Linked DNA regions of Homo sapiens: all the other regions are linked to region 2. The links are contacts of gene promoters, found by promoter capture Hi-C in blood cells and fetal thymus (Javierre and others, 2016). All regions are on one chromosome and are shown on one strand. Each heading gives the region's core, a stretch centred on a gene start or on the middle of the fragment in contact. The rest is flanking DNA. Distances are from core to core; before and after follow the strand shown. Region 1 holds the start of SLC39A2 (solute carrier family 39 member 2). Region 2 holds the start of CCNB1IP1 (cyclin B1 interacting protein 1). Region 3 holds the start of RNASE3 (ribonuclease A family member 3). Region 4 has its middle 34 kb from the start of RNASE3. Region 5 holds the start of ARHGEF40 (Rho guanine nucleotide exchange factor 40).

What was found. Contacts are between HindIII fragments. The CHiCAGO score rates a contact against its expected background, and 5 or more counts as called.
Region 1: the fragment with the promoter of SLC39A2 here is called in contact with the fragment with the promoter of CCNB1IP1 in region 2 in 1 of 17 cell types (monocytes); the score reaches 6.9 in monocytes.
Region 3: the fragment with the promoter of RNASE3 here is called in contact with the fragment with the promoter of CCNB1IP1 in region 2 in 8 of 17 cell types (neutrophils, total B cells, M2 macrophages and 5 more); the score reaches 12.2 in neutrophils.
Region 4: a contact is called between a fragment that was not itself captured here and the fragment with the promoter of CCNB1IP1 in region 2, in 15 of 17 cell types (neutrophils, total B cells, naive CD4 T cells and 12 more). The highest score is 15.6, in neutrophils.
Region 5: the fragment with the promoter of ARHGEF40 here is called in contact with the fragment with the promoter of CCNB1IP1 in region 2 in 1 of 17 cell types (monocytes); the score reaches 5.6 in monocytes.

The regions. Positions count from the first base shown.
Region 1 is chr14:20,996,451-21,000,918 of GRCh38, forward strand. SLC39A2 (solute carrier family 39 member 2) reads left to right here and starts at 2,843. Exons shown (of 4, transcript NM_014579.4): 1 at 2,843-3,111; 2 at 3,292-3,422; 3 at 3,666-3,716. The coding sequence starts at 2,997. LOC101929718 (a long non-coding RNA gene) reads right to left here and starts at 2,713. Exons shown (of 4, transcript NR_110139.1): 1 at 2,324-2,713; 2 at 1,230-1,364; 3 at 382-760. It overlaps METTL17 (methyltransferase like 17), which reads left to right. Exons shown (of 14, transcript NM_022734.3): 13 at 77-261; 14 at 335-585. The coding sequence ends at 440. RefSeq lists enhancers at 1-878, 2,902-4,101. The HindIII fragment of the contact is 5,548 bases long and covers 1,627-4,468 here.
Region 2 is chr14:20,332,024-20,336,466 of GRCh38, forward strand. CCNB1IP1 (cyclin B1 interacting protein 1) reads right to left here and starts at 1,256. Exons shown (of 7, transcript NM_021178.5): 1 at 1,231-1,256. RefSeq lists an enhancer at 1,026-1,335. The HindIII fragment of the contact is 11,464 bases long and covers 1-4,443 here.
Region 3 is chr14:20,888,249-20,892,883 of GRCh38, forward strand. It overlaps RNASE3 (ribonuclease A family member 3), which reads left to right and starts at 3,137. Exons shown (of 2, transcript NM_002935.3): 1 at 3,137-3,203; 2 at 3,434-4,100. The coding sequence starts at 3,439. The coding sequence ends at 3,921. All of the region lies in intron 1 of LOC100507513 (a long non-coding RNA gene), which reads right to left. The HindIII fragment of the contact is 4,045 bases long and covers 3,103-4,635 here.
Region 4 is chr14:20,855,348-20,860,316 of GRCh38, forward strand. No RefSeq gene overlaps it. Among named protein-coding and RNA genes, the nearest start is that of RNASE3, 34 kb to the right of the region's middle. The HindIII fragment of the contact is 4,704 bases long and covers 1-3,936 here.
Region 5 is chr14:21,068,465-21,071,553 of GRCh38, forward strand. ARHGEF40 (Rho guanine nucleotide exchange factor 40) reads left to right here and starts at 1,840. Exons shown (of 24, transcript NM_018071.5): 1 at 1,840-1,935. The coding sequence starts at 1,933. It also overlaps a transcript of NDRG2 not described here. RefSeq lists silencers at 138-237, 1,773-1,992, 2,003-2,072, 2,863-3,089 and an enhancer at 2,564-3,089. The HindIII fragment of the contact is 9,571 bases long and covers 1-3,089 here.

The sequences.
Region 1 (4,468 bases), core at 1,593-4,092, 670 kb after region 2:
ATGGGGAAGAAGGGACTGTACAAACTTTTTTCCCATATCTTTTTCTTCTAAACAGTCTCTATGTTCCTTATCTTAGAACAAGAAACCAAAGGAAGAAAAGTTCTCTATGGTGATCCTTGCTCGGGGGTCTCCAGAGGAGGCTCATCGCTGGCCCCGTATCACTCAGCCTGTCCTTAAACGGCCTCGCCATGTGCATTGTCACTTGTGCTGTCCAGATGGGCACATGCAGCATGCTGTGCTCACAGCCCGCCGGCACGGCAGGTATGGGGGGTGTGACCAAAATCAGTGGGATGTGGCAGGAAGCTGCAGCCCACGCCAGCATCTGTTTCCACAGGGATTTGTATCGTTGTGCCCGTGTCAGCTCCTGGGGAGATCTTTTACCTGTGCTTACTCCGTCTGCGTTTCCTCCATCTACGGCTCAGGATCCCTCTGAGAGTTGATGAGGATGTGTAACAAGTATTTTCTTCTATCGTGCCTGCCAGGGCTGAAGCTGCCTGGTATCCAGGAGGGGAATGCTGGTATCCCCATATGTCTGTGTTTGTTTGAGATTTTTAATAATAAATAATAAATTTTTGAAGAATGGAAGTGGATTTTGTGATTCTTAAAAAGTGTAGAAGCTGGGCACGGTGGCATGTGTCTGCATTTCCAGCCACTCAGGAAGCTGAGGCAAGAGGATCACTTGAGCCCAGGTGTTAAGGCTACAGTGAACTTTGATTGTAACACTGCACTTCAGCATAGGTAACAGAGCAAGACGTCCTCCCTTAAAAAAAAAAAAAAAAAAAAAACATGTAAAAGGTATAGTTAATTATCCTGGCCTATCCTGTAATGAAGAGCTTCCTCAGATTTTTGGTGCCAGGCTTCCCACACAAATCTCAAGCTCGCCCTCTCCTATTGTGGCAGTTCAGAGCTCCATAAGCTCTTCGCTGTAATGATGAATGTGTAAGCTGATCATTAAAGCAGAAGTAGAAAAACCAGATTTCCATAAGCCCTTTGCTATAATGATGAATGTACAAGTTAAACATTAAAGCAGAAGCAAGAAAAATGGATAAGGAATCGGGGGAAACTGGTGCCTGAGTACGAAAGCCAGAATACAAAAAAAGCAAGCCCTTTAAAGCCCCACCTATACTTTCTCTACCTCAGATCTAGCTGAGTGATAAAAGCATTCCTGCACATACAACCCATCCCAGGACCAACTTAAGATTAAGAAACTTCTGTCTGCAAGTACTCACTCACTATGGTGGGATCAGCTGCAAAGCGAACTGTCCCATGCTCATGTTGATGGTTTTCTAGATACTGCCAACATGTTAGCTCTTTCTGGTGCCGATGAATTTCAAACGCGAACAGACACCCTTGATGTGGGTTTGCTAAGAAAATAGAAGAACAGGAAGAAAAGTTGCCAGGTTCAGACATCCCAGGGAAAAAGAAGCGTAAACAGCATTAGCAATCAGTGACTGATGATAATGCTGCAATAATGGGAATGGTTTTATTTCTAAATCAAATCGTTTATTGCTTTGTTTCTAAAAAACAAAAAAAAAACTTCTACCTGCAGACCCCTAGTTTAGATTAATTAGGAAACATTCCCGCAGGTAGTCATAGAGCTTGAATTGTATATAAAAGCTAAAGAAAAGCTTGTAACTTTGAGTTGGTCTGGTGTGCTACTCCGACCTCCCTGTAATCAGTTGCAGAAATAAACTCCCGTCTTTCCCAGTCTGTCTGTCTGCATCTCATTACCGGACCACAAGAACAAGCAGCAGGACCAGTAACACTGTAAGAATCATCCAGTAACACTGTAAGAATACTGCTTCTACCAGAGGCCAGGACTTCCCTAGGAAAATAATCTGGAGTAGCAAGGAAAGCTGCCTCCAGAGCTCTGAGAACTGGCTCAACAGGTCTCAGGGTTGTTATGTGGGCCACCTGAATAGGGGAATCAGCAGCTGCCTGGCCTCTTGTACTAACGCCTTCCCTTCTGTCTTTCCCAGGGTCCCTCAGCTACCCTAGAGTATGTATGGGAAATGCCCCAGACATTTCCATCAAGAGTGATTCCCATCAGAACTGAATCTTCTACCCCCACCTCTCTATATCCAGGTAGAATCCTCCCATTCACTCAGTTCATTTCTGTTTTCCCCTAAGCCTTGCTGTTTCAGGGCTAGAGCAGCTTCCTTTGTCTTAAACCTTAAATGTCTTTTTTTCCACAGTTCTTACCAGGAAACAGGCACAGTTAGAAGTTGTAACAGTATAAATGTTGTAATACCAGACATCTCAACTCATTCCTCTCAAAACTGATCCCAATCAAAAGAGAAAGAAAAAAAACAAATCAACTTACCACTAGACATTTCCATGCCTGGAGCTATTTTTCTGGGGTTACAGGAAAGGGTAGTTCCCTCATGTGGGTACTAGTTCCCACAGAGTAGCACCAGCACCACCTCTCAGCCCCACCTCTTTACCTCCAGGTGGCCCCAAATCTCTGAAAGCGGGTGGTTCAAGTATCAGCATTGCAACCTATAAGACTTGGGATGAGGTGGAGAGGGTATGGAAGGCTTAGATCAAACGTCCTGAGTGAGACAGGACCAGATTGTCCCCAGTACAAAATAGCTGGGAAGCAGCTACCATAGACTTTCCTATTTTGGATTAGACCAACCCCAAGCACATGAACTAAGACTATCCGTAGCTCTTGGATTAGTCATGCCATTGAAGAGGAGGAGAAGACGCCACTGGGCTGTGCCTGGCAGGGAGTCTGGAGTTTCTGGTTTCCAAGCTCAGGAAGGCGTGAACCAGGGGAGGGGCCTCCATGCAGGGGGAGGGCTAGAAGCTGGGGCAGGATCTGTCAGCTCTGCAATGCTGCAGAAGCAGAAGCAACACAGAAAGAAGATACCAACAGCCTCCTGAAACTCACGAGAGTGGACACTCCAGTGTTGACCACCTAAGATACCACTCCTGCTCCAAAGATTACAGCTCCCTTGTCATTCTGACTCCTGGGCTTACCCTACACCCCAGAGATGGAGCAACTACTAGGAATAAAACTTGGCTGCCTGTTTGCCCTGTTGGCTCTCACTCTGGGCTGTGGCCTTACTCCCATCTGCTTCAAATGGTTCCAGATTGATGCAGCCAGAGGTATAGCCCTACCCCATCTTTGTTCCATAGCCTGAGTCTCACCTCAACCCTGTCCTGATACCTTGCTCTGATTCTCTCACCATCCCCAACCTTGGGATATTGAGTGCTGCCTGCTGCTCTTTACTCACCTTTGTCTGTCTCCTCAGTGTCAAGTGGGTTGTAACTTCTGCTTTTTATTAGGTCATCACCGGCTAGTCCTCAGACTCCTGGGCTGTATTTCTGCTGGTGTTTTCCTGGGAGCAGGGTTCATGCATATGACTGCTGAAGCCCTGGAGGAAATTGAATCACAGATTCAGAAGTTCATGGTGCAGGTGAGAGCAGAGATTTCAAGCCGCAGGTCTATGAGGCCAAAATGATAAACAGGACAAAGGGAAGAGAGCGGGAAAGTGATGGAGCCAAGGACATGGGTGGAACGACAAGGAAAATGACAGCTCTTGTGTGGGATGGTGAAAGCAAGTCAGATTAGGCTTTAAGGAAAACAGAATTGCTGAAGGGACAGCACAGGAAGCTGTGCTGCTCCATCCCACATCTAATTTCTGCTGCTTTCTTCTTAGAACAGATCAGCAAGTGAGAGAAATTCTTCTGGTGATGCTGATTCAGCTCATGTAAGTACCTCCCACCATCCCCTATCTGGAGAGTGAGGAGAACCAGAGAGGCCTTTCATATCCAGACCCTTTTGAGAGGAATACATGAGGAGTACCAAGAATCCCTTCTGCTCCCTAGCTCAGACATCGTAGAGGAAAAGAGGAGCAAATCCAATCCTTTTGAGTTTATAGAATGCCAGGGAAAGCCCTTGTTTTACTCTTTCATTCTTTCCCTGGATCCTCTGATATACCTCACATCATTTGCCCATGTTTTTAACTCTATTGAGATTCTGTCCCTTAGCCCCTCTGGCAGTCTTTTGTTGTTGTTGTTTTTCGTTTGTTTGTTGAGATGAAATCTCTCTGTCGCCCAGACTGGAGTACAGTGGCACAATCTCGGCTCACTGCAACCTCTGCCTTCCGAGTTCTAGTGATTTTCCTGCCTCAGCCTCCTGAGTAGCTGGGATTACAGGCACGTGCCACCACACCTGGCTAGTTTTTGTATTTTTAGTAGAGACGGGGTTTCATCATGTTGGCCAGGCTGGTCTCAATCTCCTGACCTCAAGTGATCTGCCCACTTCAGTCTCCCAAAGTGCTAGGATTACAGGCATGAGCCACTGTGTCCGGCCCACTCTGGCATTCTTGTTGTTGCATGGCCATGTCTACTCTTGGCTTCATTTCCCCTACCCTTTTTTGTGTTCTGTTACCACATTTTCTCATTCTCTTCAATCTCCCAATTCCATGTCCATCCAATGTATTGCCTACCCTTCCTTTCC
Region 2 (4,443 bases), core at 6-2,505:
ATATTTTTTTTTTTTTTTTTTTTTTTTTGAGACAGAGTTTCGCTCTTGTTGCCCAGGCTGGAGTGCAATGGCGCGATCTCGGCTCACCGCAACCTCCACCTCCCGGGTTCAAGCGATTCTCCTGCCTCAGCCTCCCGAGTAGCTGGGATTACAGGCATGCGCCGCCATGCCCCAAAAAATAAATTTTAACAATGCTTGAGAATTATAAAAATTATGGGAGGCCTACAAATACCTATTACTACATTCGATTAACTGGTTTATTATTTGTCTTTCTCACACTTTCTGCCTATAAGAATATCCAACACAAACATCACATTAAAATTAACATGTACCAAAAGAAAGGAATTCAGTGAAATGACATTGAAGGTCACTAAGCAAACTTTTTATGAGAAAACAGATATCCAAAATACTTGCTGTAAATAAATAAGTACTGCTTACTTCTAAAGGTACCTAACATTTATTACACACCAACTAGAGCCTAGTTTTTATATATTTTATCTGATCTTGGAAAGCTAAGCCTCGGAATGGCTCACTGCTTCTCCCAAGGTCACCAGAGCTGTAAACTGTGGCGCTGGAATTTAAATCTAGAGGCTTGCCCTGAACTAAGGTCCCTAATCTTTTTCCATAGCTTTTAAGGACACAATCACCACAGTGGCAACATTAAAAATTAGGAGCTCCTTTTAAGGCTTATCTGTCTTCAGAGTTTGCTGCCCAGGTTCACCAAGAAAGCCGAAATGATCTGAGCGAAGGCCAGGAGAAAGACAAGGTACGCTGCAGCTTCCACAAACCCAGTAAGGACCTGGGCCCTCTAGACACTCACCGGAGAATTAAACTCTACTGAGCTGAACGCCTTCTCCCGAAATCTGACCTCACCCAGGGAGATATAAATCAAAACAGCATTAGGATGATAATATCTTTCCCGCCAAGCAAAATGAAGCCGGCGTTTTCCAAGAACACACGCACTGTGCACATGAAGCACAGTCTATTGTTCCTGGGTCACCAGGACTCGGAGACGGAAGGCAAACCCAGTACTGCAGAGGCCCACGTGGAAACAAGCCAGGAAGAGCATTTCACTGCCTTCTCCCAACCTCCACACAGCCGAAATTAATCTCCTTGCGACTCACACACACTCCTATGCCGACTTGAAATAAAGGCCTGCCACCTGGGTATATAACTCAAATGGAAGAGAAATTCAAAACAATTAGAGAGCAAAATTAAGCGCACACTCACCAGCCCACCAAAACGGAGAGGGAAAGAAAGTGGAGAGACAGGAAGTCGCCTTGGGAAGTGTCTTCAGAACCTGATTGGCTAATGAGTTCAAGAGGATTCCCTCCTCCTTTACCTTAAAAGGTGCTGAAATGACGTAACCCACTCCACCCCTCTTTATGGACCAGTGATGCTTCTTGCACTATTTTTGGAGTGAACTTCTTAAACCGAGTTTCCTTTTGAGTTAATGTACTTAGGCAAAAACAGGCTAATTTAAGCTATTTATACACGTTGTTGTTTGCGTGGGCCTACTGCATTCTATTCTAAAGAATTTTCATCCCTTAAGGGTAATTTCTTATCCTTTGTGACCTCAACATGCTTAACTTATGCTAGGCAACAGATTCCATTATAAACAGTCTAGATCGATTCAAGTTAAAATTTACCTTCATTTTTTCCCCCCAGATCCAAAGCTGGCCTGATAAAATTTACCTTCAGGTAATCTTTGAACTAACAGGCTTAGTAGATAAAAGGTAGGTGGGTTAAGTGTTTTAGGCTTCAAATAAAATTTAGCTGATTTTGAATCTGAACCTTGCCACTTATTTGCACACATCTAAGCCTCAGTTCCAACTATAAAAAGAGGGAAAAAAGATGAAATCTTCCTACTCTGATGGTTATGAGGATTAAGTAAAATAATTTATATAATGTACTCAGTACAATGCCCGGTACACAGTACTCAACAATGTTAGCTGTTATTATTGTTATTACATATTTCTTGTTAGATTTATATTCCCAAGTAGACTATAAACAACTGGAGATCAAAGTGTACGTTTTACACATCTCCAGACAAAAACAATGACTTTCAATGCTGAGGACATAATTGATTAATCAATTATTTTGACTCCTCACATCGCCCTCCAGTTAAAGTATAGGTTCTTACTCTGTTAAATTTTTTTTTTTTTTGAAACAGGGTCTCACTTCGTGTCCCAGGCTGGAGTGCAGTGGTGAAATCTCGACTCACTGTAGCCTTGACCTCCCAGGTTCAAGCGATCTCCTGCCTCAGTAAGTAGCTGGGACTACAGGCGTGCACCATCACACCCAGCTAATTTTTGTATTTTTTTGTAGAGATGGGGTTTCGCCATGTTGCCCAAGCTGAAAGATTTCTTTTTAAGCCATAATTAGAGGACTCCCCGGCACAATATTCATCATTATTCTTAATAAATACTATTATAGTAATAGGGAATATATATACAAGTATGTGTTATATGTACAAATATACATGTAATGTGCAAATGTTTGAAGTATAAAGATTCAAGTTATATGGAGAAATGATACAACTCTAACTCATAGTAGTTCTCATTTTTTAATCATTTCATCCTATCCACCCTGCTTCCACCTTACTAGAAATTACCTATTCCAATCCACTTTAGAGTTTACCTGCCCCAAATTTCCCAACATTTAGCATCAAATGCTAATTTGTTATTTCATAATTGATTTATTGTAACTTCTAGAGTCAAAACATTTCTTGAATGTTTACTATAAATATTCAAGAAATGTAATATTCATTACCTTGTTTAATCTTCACATTAACCCAAGAATGTAAGCACTTTCATTATAACTATTTCACCAAAAAAAAAAAAAAAAAAAAGGAAACAGAGTTATAGAGATTAAGGAATTTGTCTATTTAGCAAGTGGTAAAGTCAGGATTCAGATCCCAGTTGCTATGGTTTGACTGTCCCCTTCAAAATTCATGTTGTCACTCTAGTTTCTCTTCATATCGCATAAATCTTTCACCTTTTACAAAATTCATGTTGAAACTTAATCCCTAAAGTGGCTGAAACTTAATCCTCATTAGAAGTGGGGCCTTCAAGAGGTGACTGGATCATGAGGGTTCTGCCCTCATAAATAAATTAATCTATTCATGGATTAATAGGTTATCATGGGAGGGGAACTAGTGGCTTTAAAGAAAAGGCAAAGAGACTTAAGGATAGCATGTTAGCAGTCTCAGCATCCTGGCCATGTGATTTCCTGCCACGCCTTGGAACATCACAGCGAGTCCCCTCCAGCAAGAAGGAGTTCAGATGCAACCCAGAGGCAGTCCTTAACCTTGGACTTCACAGCATCCATAACTGCAAAAAATAAATTTCTTTTTTAAAATAAATTACCCCACAGCCTAGCCAACATGGCAAAACCTCGTCTCTACTAAAAATACAAAAATTAGCTGAGCATGGTGGTATGGGCTTGTAGTCCCAGCTACTCAGGAAGCTGAGGTGGGAGGATCGATCACTTGAACCCGGGAGGCGGAGGTTGCAGTGAACCAAGATTGTGCCACTGCAGTCCAGCCTGAGTGACAGAGTGAGGCCCTGTCTCAAAAACTAACTAAATAAATAAATAAACCAGGCTTGGTGTGATGGCTTAGACCTGTAATCCTAGCACTTTGGGAGGCCGAAGCAGGTGGATCTCTTGAAGCCAGGAGTTCGAGACCAGCCTGGCCAACATGTCGAAACCCCATCTCTACTAAAAATACAAAAAATTAGCCAGGCATGGTGGTGCACACCTGTAATCCCAGCTACTTGGGAGGCCGAGGCAGGAGAATCGCTTGAACTAATGAGGTGTAGGTTTGGAGTACCGCTATACTCCAGCCTGGGAGACAGAGCAAGACTTTGTATCCAAAAAATAAATTAATTAAAAAACAAACTAATAAATAAGTGACCCAGTTTCAGGTATTCTGTTATAAGCAACAGAAAACAAACTGAGACAGCAGCCATCCAACTTGACAGCCCAAACTCAACCACCACATTGCACTGCTTCCTATATTGTGTGATTTCAGAAAACCTTAGAAAGTACAATATTCTTTTCAAATTCCCATTAAATATCTAACATTTCTTTATGATATTCTGTATTCCAGGCTTTAATACTTATAATAATCCATGATGAAATTCTCTTCAGCTGGTAACATCAAAATTTTGTGCTCTGTAAAATAACTTTGAAATTGTTTAAAAGTCGATAGATTCCTGGGGCCAGGTGTGGTAGGTCACATCTGTAGTCCCAATACTTGGTAGGTGGAGGCAGAAGGAGCGCTTGAGCCCAAGAGTTTGAGGGCAGCCTGGGCAGCATGGTAAAACAACTGTCTCTACAAACAATAAAAATAAAAAATTGCCAAGAGTGGTGATGCCTCTATAGTCCCAGCTACTAAGGTAGGCTGAGTCGGGAAGAGAGCATGAGCCCAGAAGGTAGAGG
Region 3 (4,635 bases), core at 1,887-4,386, 560 kb after region 2:
AAATATTACTCCATTTGCTGCAATTTAATTAACCTGCACCATATTATTATGACAATCTTGTATTACTTTTAATGGCAAAAATCGCAATTACTTTTGCACCAACCTAGTAAATAGTGTGCATTGTCTTTCCCATAGATAGCCACTGCTGCATTAGGGAAATCTGTGTGCAGGAAGGTATCGATGGTTTGGTACCTCCCTGTCAGCAGGTTAAGAGCAAATATTGCAAGGGTACCCTGGGGCTGAAGAAATTGCAAGCATTGAACATTATATTTTTGCACATAAATGCTATGCAAAAAAGACATTGATCAATGCAGTGTACTCAACAGTGGTTTTTACCACAAATGCAGAAGTCTTTGTCTGGGATAATATTTTACAATGTTCATCGGTTTCCAAAAAATGACTTAACACTAGGGCGTAATTCTGACTATTCCTCTCATTGGAAGTGTGGATCAGGTCTGAAAATGTGTCGTTAAATTAGGCTGCAAGACAAGTTATGCTAATAAAATAAAGAGCCCGGGTGAAGTGCCTTGTGTCTGTTCAAGACAAAATCATGCTGAAGTTACAGAGAATTTTGTTTCGATTACAGAGATCATAACAGATAATTTTCTTTAATGTTGACTTATACTTTATTCCTGCTTCATATAAAACATCTTCTCTCAAAGGTCATAAATATCAAAGTAGATCATTTGTACTACTTCTGCTGGCAAATGAAGGTAGTTGGAAATGTACGCAGGAAATCTACACAAGGGACAATCAGAAAAACCTTATGAGCATGTTCTGAATGCAATTTTTATGGCTGGGAGCAGTGGCTCATACTTGTAATCCCATCACTTTGGAAGGCCGAGGTGGGCGCATTACCTGAGGTCAGGAGTTTGAGACCAGCCTGGCCAACATGGTGAAACCCCGTCTCTACTAAAAATACAAAAATTAGGCGGGCATTGTGTCGAGCGCCTGTAATCCCAGCTACTCAGGAGGCTGAGGCAGGAGAATCACTTGAACTTGGGAGGCGGAGGTGGAGGTTGCAGTGAGATCACGCCACTGCAGTCCAGCCTGGGTGACAAGAGCAAGACTCCGTCTCAAAAAAAAACAAAAAACAAAAAACTCCACAATTTTAAAGGATGAATATGGTTGCAAATTGGGCAGGTTATGGTCTGCTTAAGACACTTCAATAAGTCTGATATGTCATAAGCACAGATGTCTTCAGGAGCCAGGCAGGTGTCATCACTGAACAGATAGGATAAAAGTCAGGAGGGAGAGTGGAGTCAGAGAACAGCCCTGAGCTAGAGCCCCTTCCACAGACGCAGCTGTTACTCAGCTCTAATTGATACAACACCAATGGTGCACCAACCACCATCATGTGATTTTTAAAGATAAGACAGTAATGAAAACTTTTAGTGAACTATTCCAATGTCAAACTTTATCTTCCAAACCAAACATCATAAATAGCACTGTGTATGCTGAAAAGAAGCACTGTTTAGCCAAGTACCTGCCCTGGGGCTGCAGTCTATGTCTTTTGCCTCATACTATAGACACTTAAGTGCAAATGTTTCTAGCCAGTGTGGCTGTCAGCATCACAGAGGGGATACTCTACGTATCATTCACCTTTACATTCTCATCACCTACAAAAATGATCTCCACACAATATACATGAAAAAATAAACTTGCCTCATGATAAAGCTGCTAATGAATGTCGGCCAGAACAGGACTTCAAGGCAGAGCAATATTAGCTGCGCATTGAGTCCTCACCAGGTCACCATTGTGTCCACATTTACCTAAGGACCCCAGTGATAAAATTATTGCATTTCTAAATGACAGGAAAATTGGACGGTAGTAAAAATTAGGCAGATTAACTGTTGGAAGGTATATTATATCATTTAAGGGTCTACTTTCCATTTTCTAATCTCAAAGCTAGACCAGATTTAACATCTGTTAGTACCCAGGCCTTACCTTTGCAATTCACTTCTCACCTCTGTACAATTTCCCCACATCATCCCCTGTGCCCAGAATGCTCATCTCTTCTCTAAATCCCCTGAAAATCCCCTGCTTATCCTTTAGGACCTGCTGAAATAAACTTTTTTTTGAAGTTTTCCTTATTTCTCAAGCCAAGTGATTTCCTTCACCAGCAGTGTCCCTATGACACCATGTTCACACAAATGCTATTACCTCTATCACACTGTAATACAATTATATGTCTACAAGTACTTTCCTGTGTTTCTCTGAGGGCCAAGAATAAATGTATGCTTTGTGTATCAAACTGTACACTTGACCTCTATACTTTCAGGAATACAGTGCTCTGTCCTTAAATGTTCATTTGTAAATACAGAACCATATTCTTGTTAATATCACAAAATGAAACTTACCAGGAAGATGAATGACAACCCCAGAACACACTGTTTTGTAGAAAATACCATAGGCTGAAAAGATCACAGGAATACCGAGTGCTAGGTTGGAATCTTTCATGACACCAAATGTTCATTCATCCTCTGCCAGATTTTACAACTGTCCTCGGTGTGTTTTTAGGTTATGTAACTTTACACAAAGTGGAATCAATAATCAGGGCAAGACTTAAGAGAAAGTGGATCCAATGCAAGAGGAGTAAAGAAAAAAATTCCTCAATTGTATGGAGCAGATTGTTTTAATTATCTACAGAATCTTGTGCCCCAAGAAATTAATAGCTCAAGTTTCCAGCAAGAGTGGTGGATGAGATGGAGAGCATTTATGTGAGAGAGAACCAAGGATATTACTAAAAATGGAAGGGAAGCTGGGTTTCTCCTGGGCAAACAGCCCTCTGTGGCTCTATTTCTCCTAACTACTATGCCTGCCTTCGTGTCATTTAGTCATTTAGGGGCCTGCCAGAGGACAGTTATAAAATCTGTGGTCATTCTGCCGGCAGCGTATAGTTTTCACCCAGAGTCCAGATCCCACCGGCAAAACTCTGTCTAACACAGGATGACTTGGAATTAGAGTCCGTATAGCAGAAAGAGCAGCAGGGCTGTCCTTGGGTATCCGTTGCTCAGCCAAGTCATCAAATAAAAAGGATGATTGCACAAGTGGACCATGTGTCAATCTGTGGGTTTCTGCATGGCCAGACCCACCAAGGGAAGCTTTATTTAAACAGTTCCAAGTAGGGGAGACCAGCTGCCCCTGAACCCCAGAACAACCAGCTGGATCAGTTCTCACAGGAGCCACAGCTCAGAGACTGGGTAAGTCAACAATCCCCAGAGCTGGGACAGGAGGGGCAGCGACAGGGCAGCACCTGAGGGAGAGGTGAGCTGAAGTTAGTGCTTAGGAGATGTGGCACACTTTGGGGACAGGAAGAAAAGGAAATGCGACCCCAGAGTGGCAGCAGAGGGGCCTGTGGGTTGAGACACTATAGAGTGTGTCATAACCGAGACCGGATCGGGGAGTAGTTACTTCTCTTCTTTTCTTACAGGAAACATGGTTCCAAAACTGTTCACTTCCCAAATTTGTCTGCTTCTTCTGTTGGGGCTTATGGGTGTGGAGGGCTCACTCCATGCCAGACCCCCACAGTTTACGAGGGCTCAGTGGTTTGCCATCCAGCACATCAGTCTGAACCCCCCTCGATGCACCATTGCAATGCGGGCAATTAACAATTATCGATGGCGTTGCAAAAACCAAAATACTTTTCTTCGTACAACTTTTGCTAATGTAGTTAATGTTTGTGGTAACCAAAGTATACGCTGCCCTCATAACAGAACTCTCAACAATTGTCATCGGAGTAGATTCCGGGTGCCTTTACTCCACTGTGACCTCATAAATCCAGGTGCACAGAATATTTCAAACTGCACGTATGCAGACAGACCAGGAAGGAGGTTCTATGTAGTTGCATGTGACAACAGAGATCCACGGGATTCTCCACGGTATCCTGTGGTTCCAGTTCACCTGGATACCACCATCTAAGCTCCTGTATCAGCAGTCCTCATCATCACTCATCTGCCAAGCTCCTCAATCATAGCCAAGATCCCATCCCTCCATGTACTCTGGGTATCAGCAACTGTCCTCATCAGTCTCCATACCCCTTCAGCTTTCCTGAGCTGAAGTCCCTTGTGAACCCTGCAATAAACTGCTTTGCAAATTCATCTGGAAGTGTCTGTGTGTCTTCCTCGGCCGCTCTGCTGTCATTTAGTGACAATCTGCTCTAGAGATTTGGGTTTATCATGAATCTCTCCCCCTCAATATCTGACCAAATTCCTTAATTCCCCCATCATCCTTCATGTGATACCTGATTCCAGGCCTGCCTTAAAAAAAAATCCAATTGAGTCAACTTAGCATTGGTCTCCCTAGCCTTAATATCTCCTCTAAGCAATTTTCCATCCACTGACTCCTCCCCCAACACCAACCTATAACTTGTGTATAGATCTCCACTTGTTTTAGTTGTATTCCAGAATTGAGCCCAATTTGATATTGAGGTCCCATTTGATGCTTTATGGTCCGACTATGGTTTTTATTGACATGATTTCTATCCCAAGAAAAAAAGAGCTGCAGTGAATCAGCTGAAAATGCACGTGCTTCATTATGATTTATGAATGATAAATTTTGATAGAATTGAACGTTATGATAGAAAATAGAAAAGAAGAAAGTAGAAAAAGTCAAGAATGCTATAAATAAGGTGAA
Region 4 (4,969 bases), core at 335-2,834, 520 kb after region 2:
CCTAGTGACTTTTCAGATTGCCCTTTGTAAAGGCATGGTAACTATCGTAGCCATACATTAGTATGAATTAGAATCAAACATTCCATCACACCACCAATTTCCAGAGGATGCATTAGGATACTGAAGATACAAATGCATCTTCCAACACTCCCTCTGTCATGCTCCCACATGACTCTTGGTCCCATGGAAACCCTTGAGATAGGTCACTGAGTAAAGGAAGAAGCCAGTTCTTGGTAGGATTGACTGAACTGGCTAAAGAGCTCATTCCCAAGGTGGATGGTCAGCAGTCCAAAGTAAAATGCCTAGTAGATTGAGGCTAATATCAGAATTCTAGAAGAACCAACCCAGTGGGGGAGTAGGTTTCAAGCACTGGCTAACGCTATAAGTCACGTGGGAGCCAGGGTAATGTTTCAGTGAGCAGTCCATTGACAGAAGTTCTGAAACAGGACCCAGCCCTCAGCAGGAGAGCGCTGGTGAGAGATTTGAATCGCTAGGGTCTGGTCATGGTGTCAGTCCCAGAGGACATCTAGTGTTCAAAGCGGGAAATTCAGACAGACGATCACTGAGATATAGAACAGAGGGTAGTATAACATATAATTGGTAGAACATTCTAATTTACACATTTAATGACTTTTTGCAAACTCAGCATGCTAATGTACTACCTGTCTCTCCATTCATCAATGAAACACTTTCTGAGCATAGACTCTGTGCCAGGCAGACCGCTAGGTACTGGAGATGCAAAACACATAACCTAGTCCCAGGGAGCTTCTAGTCCAGTGGACTCACTAGACAGAGCCTTTCATCTTTCTCCACGCACAGCCAGATTCCAGGCATTAGGGAAGGAAGAGAGTATCTGCCACACTGGAAACTTCATCTTCTCATGTGCTTATTGTTTGTATCCCCTTGTATTCTTCTTTCCTCCTTTCCTTTTCTTGGCTCCTTTTCTTCCTTTCAGATATTTCATATCCCCTAATCTATTTTTTTTTTTTTGAGATGGAGTCTCACTCTGTCACCCAGACTAGAGTGCAGTGGCGCGATCTTGGCTCACTGCAACCTTCGCCTCCCAGGTTTAAGCGATTCTCCTGCCTCAGCCTCCTGAGTAGCTGGGATTACAGGCATGCGCCACCACACCCGGCTAATTTTTTGTATTTTTAGTAGAGATGGGGTTTTGCTATATTGGCCAGGCTGGCCCCTAATCTATTGTATTACATGGCTCACATTTTATTGTAGCACAAGTGTGTTTCTGTCTTCAACAATGTGTACTGACTTGGACATCCCAGAGTCAATAATCTGGAGATACTCTGACTTGTATTATTAGTAGTAGGCCTCACGTATTTTTGTGTTTTTACCTAATAAACTTCCAGCTTATTAGAGAATGCTAATCCAGGAGATCCTGGTTTATGTTAGAGTTTGTAGACCACTACTTCAGAAAAATCAGGAGTGTTTGTGAATTCATGATCACACATAGTAGTGAGAGCAAAAAGACACAGTCTAAGGGCATTTGTTTTTTAAATGATTCTAATAGAAATATTCCACATTTTTATAGAATTATCTTGTTTCCCAACTAACAAAAATCTGTACAACAATAACTTCTAACTTTTGGCAATGAGTAGAAAGGGTGGTTCTCACGAATGCTACCACACAGTGGAAATTTCCCCATCCACATTGAGACTGAGGAAGAGATAATCATCAAAAAAATCAGCCCCTTTCCCAGTTAAGGTTCTCTCTTTCTCTCTCTCTCTCTCTCTCTCTCTCTCACACACACACACACCACACACACTTCAAAGCCCTTCTTTAAGTTAGGCCAGGAAAGAGCAACTGAGGCGCCCAACATACAGACCCCTTTACCTTTTCAGAGATTGTCTTTGCAAGTCAGGATCTAATACTGGGGTTCAAGGTAAATTTGATATTACACCCACATGGATATAATTTCATATTCTCCCTATTCTGGACCCTGAGATGGAAAGAGCATAGAGACAGGGCCCAGAGATTTTCCAGCAAGAAAATTAAAGAACATATGTGAGGCAGGATAGTTTGCTGAGATACTACTTTTTCTTTCTTCTCTTTGTATTTTCCTCATGCCTCTAGTTCCAAGCAGAGAGCCAGACCCTTTTGCAATTCCTTAGGATATCTGCAGAATGGAAAGGAGGAAGTGTATGAAGCCAAACTTAATCTTACTGTCTTTTGAGAACCCTGAAATTTGGTGAAAATAAATTGCCTCTTGAAAAGTGTGGCAAAGTTGAGATTGGAGAGAGACTGAGGGCGAAGTTGGAGGGGAGGAAAAATGCAGAGGAGAGGCAGCATGGTGAACCTAGGCTGACTCCAGGCACAGAAGATCCGGACCGCCATGAAAACCCCCACGCCCTCAAGAATGAAACAGAAGCAGCTCAGCTAAGGTTTCTGTGCACCTTCTAAACCGAGGAAGGGGAGCCGGGTCAATCAGGCTCAGAGGTAGAGATGCCTAGCTCACTGCTTGCCGGCAGGGGGCGCTCTCCTATTATTGTATTTTCTTTTTTGAGGACATCAAGACTCAGTGTGCAAAAATTCTCATCAAAGATACAAATTCAAATGTGGTTGCTTTTGTAAAAATACCCATCTTCACAACCCCAGACTACTCCTCAACTCGTGCTTGCTGGAGGCTCCACCCTCTGCATTCTCTTCATTACTTCGGGTCTCTTTGACTTGTCTCTTGTAAGGACGAAGGCTTCGCCAGCATCGGCACACATCTGCTGCCTGATCTGGCCATGTGAACCACTGTCCATCCCTCAGAGGCAAATTCCTCCCACAACACCTGACTTACACCAGCCTTTTCTATCCAGAGACCTTGGCACCAGGATTAAAAAGCAAGTATCTCCTTTATTTGCCTCTATTTGGTGGCCGGATGCTAACACAGTACGATTTTCACCTTTTCTCCCTTCTCTTAACTCTCCCATTTAGCTACACAGGTTTGAGGTTAAGCCTAGGATATAGTTGTACACATTAATTATTATTTTACTTGACTTCAAGTAGACTTCTCAGGATATCATTTTGGACTGCTTTCTTGGGATGTTTACTGTGACTCAGAGATGAAAGGTCTTCAGTGACACAGTCCACCTTCCCCCTCCAATGGATACAAAGAATCAGAAGAGTAAAGAGAGAGGTGTTTTTTGCCCCTTTGTCAAGTCTAGAGACAGCAGATTCCCTGGAAACTTCCTAGGTTTGTCTAAGCCTCCCTAGTTTACATTCATCTCTTCTCCTTTAGTCTATAGTGAAGATGGAGATCTCTTGACCTAAATAACATGTTCAAGCATGATCTGTCCCTGTCTTAAAGATTTATTCTTGTTCATTATATTATATCCTACAATCACCCTTGTAAGCATGGTAAGTATGATTTAAAGTCTTCACTTTCTGAGCTTCAGACTAAATAATTCTATTTCTTTCCTCATTTTTCCATAAGCATGGACTTACAAATAATTCAATTCACTTTCTCCATTTTCTCCATCATCATGAACTTACTTAAATCCAGGTGTCCAGTGTGCTGGGTAAGGATGACTGACCAATAAGTATCTTTCCTGTGGGCACTCAGTTCATAGTGTGTGTGTGTGTGTGTGTGTGTGTGTGCACATGTGGTTTGGGAGTGATAGATCTTGTTTTACACACAGAGGTAAGACCCACTTTCCAGCTGGATAGGAAGATGGGGAATAATAAACACAGAAGTCCACCTCATGTCAAATGCAGATCCAGGTGCTAGGGAGACATGGATGAATACGTGTGTCTTTTTCCTGGTGATCTCTTAATTAAATTAAAGCTAAGACTCTGGACACAGCAAACCTAAAGAGGAAATATTCTCCATAGAATAGTGGGCATACTCTGTAGTTACCTCTCTCTATCCCCTAATCCTGTAGAAAAGAAAGTTCATATGCATCAAAAGATGAAAATGCATCAGGTCTGACAATAAGCTTAGCCTTGTTACCTAAAAAAGCTAATGTCATGCTAGCTTTTTCACAGCTATATACACCATGTGATTTTGTATATGTGGCTTTATTTCCCATATAGTCATGGAACTAGTCGGGCAGAGCACCCTGGGTTTGGTTTCTGTCCTGTCATTTGCTTGCAGTGGCAGCTTAACAAATTCCTTTGCCTTTTCTAGTACTGACTGCCTTATTTTTAAGGGCCTTTCTGCAGCTAATACAGGCCATGGTATTGCTTCTTAGTGGCTCAGATGGGACAGGCACTTTGCTTAGGTCCCACAAGACTTTTAATGATATCTGTATCTGTTTTCAGACAACGCCCAAGCTTTCCTCCTAAAACCTAGCTTTGCCTTCTTAAGAATGACAGAAGACAAAGGGAAGAGTCAATAATAATAATTCTTGGAGAAAAATATTGTTTCAAAAGTAGTGGTTTCCTGACTAGTGTGTGTTACCAAGCAGCCTTCTGAAAGACAACAAAGAGGAAATTCTAGTTATCCAGTAGGTGAAGCATTTTTCTTGAGGAGGATGCACTGGGAGAAAGAAGTAGATTCACCCCATAAAAATTAGCCAAGAGTTCTCTGAGCAAATCCTGGAATTCCAAATATTCTTCTATTAGTATCACCTACTACTCAGAAGAGGAGCCCAAAATTCTAGGTGAATGTGCCACCTCCACTATAGTAAGAAGAGGGGATTTGCAGGGCTGGAGAGGACCTCAGAATGTCTGATTTAAGGAGTCAGTATTTTAAATAACATGTTAATTTTTTTTTTTCTGATTAGAGAAGTAACACATTTCAAATACAGAAATGTTAGGAAATTTGGAGGGAAGGTTCCAAGACGGCCGAATAGGAACAGCTCCAGTCTGCAGCTCCCAGTGTGAGCAACGCAGAAGACGGGTGATTTCTGCATTTCCAACTGAGGTACCAGGTTCATCTCACTGGTGCTTGTCAGACAGTGGGTGCAGGACAGTGGGTGCAGCCTACGGACTGTGAGCTGAAGCATGGCCTTGCCTCACCTGGGAA
Region 5 (3,089 bases), core at 590-3,089, 740 kb after region 2:
TGCAGTTTAAGGAATGGAAGGCCTGGTGAGGAAAGGTTCAGACACTCTCAACACCGAGAATAGATGAGCTAGGTTTGAGACAGGTGAATAAGGTTTTTTAAACACTGGCCCCTGTAACCCGCCCCTGGGCAGTATTTACGGAATGGACACCAGGGGGTAGCAAAATCTCACTCTCCTAGCTCGCGGGCCCTCGTAATAGAGAACCTGGAGAGTGTCGGTGACTCGAGGGTCCCCTAGCCGGGTGTTAGAAAGAGCTCCAACTCCACGGCTCTAACTGTGCGGGGAAGATGGTTACCGGGGCTTGTTGCCATAGGTTCTTTTTTGACGCATGGAGCAGAGGCCTCTTCTTGCCTCTAAGAAGGATGAACACTTGCTCTGTCCTTTTCCAGGCTCAGCGGAGCGGAGAAAAAGGTGGAGGTTAGCGTCCAGAGGAGGTGAGAGAAGAGCAAGTCACCTTGGCGGCACCCCCGCCTCCCCTCCCGCTGTTCCAACAACTGCCCAGAGGCTCCGGCCTCCGAGGAACTGCAGGCGAGGCCAGACGTTTTCTCATCATCGCCCTCCAGCTGCAGGGGCACACGCGTTCACGCCCCTCCGGGGACTATTCGGCTTTCCGATCTCCTCTCCTCTCCCTTCCGTCCACCCTTTAGAAGAGCTCACGGAGCTGCGGGGCTTCCCGGTGCCTGCTCAGAGGCCAGGCAGGGCATCTCCCCGCCGTGCCCGTGCCTCCCCCCGGGCTCCTGGGAGACCCCCCATCTGGCCTTCCTTTCTCATTCAGACACTGTCGGGGGACGCTCGGGGTTTGATGAGGGAGTGAGGCTAGAACTTTCGTAACTAGCCCACCCTGCTTTGTCTCCTGCGCCAGATACCCACCCATTCCCATGGCCACGAGCCCTAGCGGCCCTGCGGGACTCTATAGCCACCCCAACAGAAGGAAGGGGCTGGCATCCAGTACCGAATCCTCGAACTGGAGGCCTGGTGCCTTCCCTCTTCTAGCCGAATAGAGAGGTAGGGATGCGGAAGGGAAGGGCCACGGAGGAGAGAACTCAGAAAATGTCCGGCGAAATGCACGCCCCTACATAAGCATCCCGATCCGGGAACCCTGCCCCCTTGGCCAGGATGTCCGCCCCCTATCCCAAGCCTTCGCTGCTCCCTAACTCCCGCACACTCCCGCCTTCCCCAGGCAACACAGAGGAGCCCATTGTCAGCCCAGAGATTCCAGGCCCGAGGAGATGGAGGGAAAGGAGGGCGGGCAAGCCCCCGGGGGGTTGGGGAATCCCCTGATTTCCCGGCCCTCCGCTCTCTGCTAGGCAGGCAGGGGCCTGAAGGTCTCATTTGAGCCCTGGGTCCTGCCAAAGTCTAGAAACCGTTGAGAGAAGAGGATCCCGGGCGAGTTAGAGCGGGGAGGCTTTCCAGCCGCAGGAAGACCCCAGTTCTGGGAAGGGGCGGCCCAAGGGAATTCACGCACGCCCCAGCCTTTGGAGCATCCCTTGCCGAGGCTAAACTGATCCCGCGGGGAGCGAGGCCGTGGCGGGAAAAGAGGGGCATCCTCGGCTGGGCGGGCCTCCGAGGGTCAGGGTCGAGGTTACCCGCTGGAGGGCGGGGCGGAGAAGAAAGAAGGTTGCCGGTGAACGGGACGGATAGGCTGGGGACGCCCGGGGAACGGCAGAGATCTCGGCGCGGGAGACAGAGTCCCGGCAAGGGGTCCCGCGCGGAGGCGGGGGCGGGCGCTGAAGGGCGGGGCGGGGAGGGGCGGCCGTCTCGGCCCTCCCTGGCGGGGCCCCGCGGCCTGGAAGCCGGAGCGGGCCGAGCCGCCACCGCGGCCGGAGCTGTCCCTTAGCCAGACCCGGCGAGACACGAGCGGCGGGAGGGAGGCGGTGGCGCGCCCGGCCCCGCCCGCCCGACCAAGCGTCGGACGCGGCCCGGCGCCGAGCCATGGTGAGTCCAGCGTCGCAGCCCCCTGGGTCCCCTCGGCCTTCGCGCAGCCCGCTCCGGGCCCCCAAGTCCTCAGCCTGGTGCCTCCCGAGCCTGCCTCGGACTGTTCGGCCCCTCTGGGACTCTCCTCCCTCCCATCCCCCCTTCTTCGATTTGTCTGTCTGCCCGACTGTTTAGCTCTGTCCCCACCGGGTATTGCCCTCACCCTTTCTTCCTCCTCTCCTCCGCCTCCTCCCCCATCCTCCCTTGGGTCTCTCCCCTAATCCACACACCTCCCCGCTCCCCGCCCTCCTCTGTCCTGACCTGTGCCTTCCTTTCCTGGAGCTTCCCTCCCCCTCCTGGTCCGAGCTCCTTACCCGCGGGAGACCCCTGCGGGTTGGTCCTGCAGCGACCCTGGAAGAGGCCCGGCCCCTCGGGTCATGAGAACTGACCTGCATGGAACCACCATTTTCCATCCCTGTCCCCAACCCGGTGAGGCAGGCCCACCCATCCGGCCCTAGGGGACTGGCCACAGCTGTGGCTGGGCCGGGTCCCGGGGCATGGCCAAAGAGGGAAATTCCCGCAGAGAAAAAGAGCTGCCTCAGGATAGTTGGGGGTGCTTGGGGGGGAGCTCACAGTACCAGGGGGCGTGACACTGCCAGAGCCGACCAGAGTTTGCGGAGGAGGAAAGTGCCCCAGAGCTCTTGCTGCAGGGAACTGAAGGGCTGCCTCAGGGCACTCCTGCTACAGAGGGGAGGGAACACGAGCCGGAGCTCCCTGCAGGGACTAGGGGACCCTGGCAGCAGCAACTTGGGGCGCTGGACGCTGGAGGGTACGCTAAGGAGAAGCCCACACCAACAGGAGTGAACACTGCCCTGGGAACTTTCACTGCAGAGTACTCTGAAGCACCGCTGCGAGAGTGGGCACTGCCAGAGAGAGCGCCCACTGCAAAGAGGGCGGGGGCATGGCCAAGGGGCCGCTCGCTGCAGAGTGGAGGAGGGGGAGAGGCCTTGCCAGGGGGAGCTCACCGCAGGGAGTGGAGGAGGGGCAGGGGCACTACTGGGGCCGCCCCTCTACGGAGGGAAGGGCACCCTCTGGCAGGGAGGCTGGAGGAAAAAGAAAGAGGAACTGGGCCAGGGAGAGCTGACTCAGTCTCTCTGGTCTCCTCTCTGGTCCCC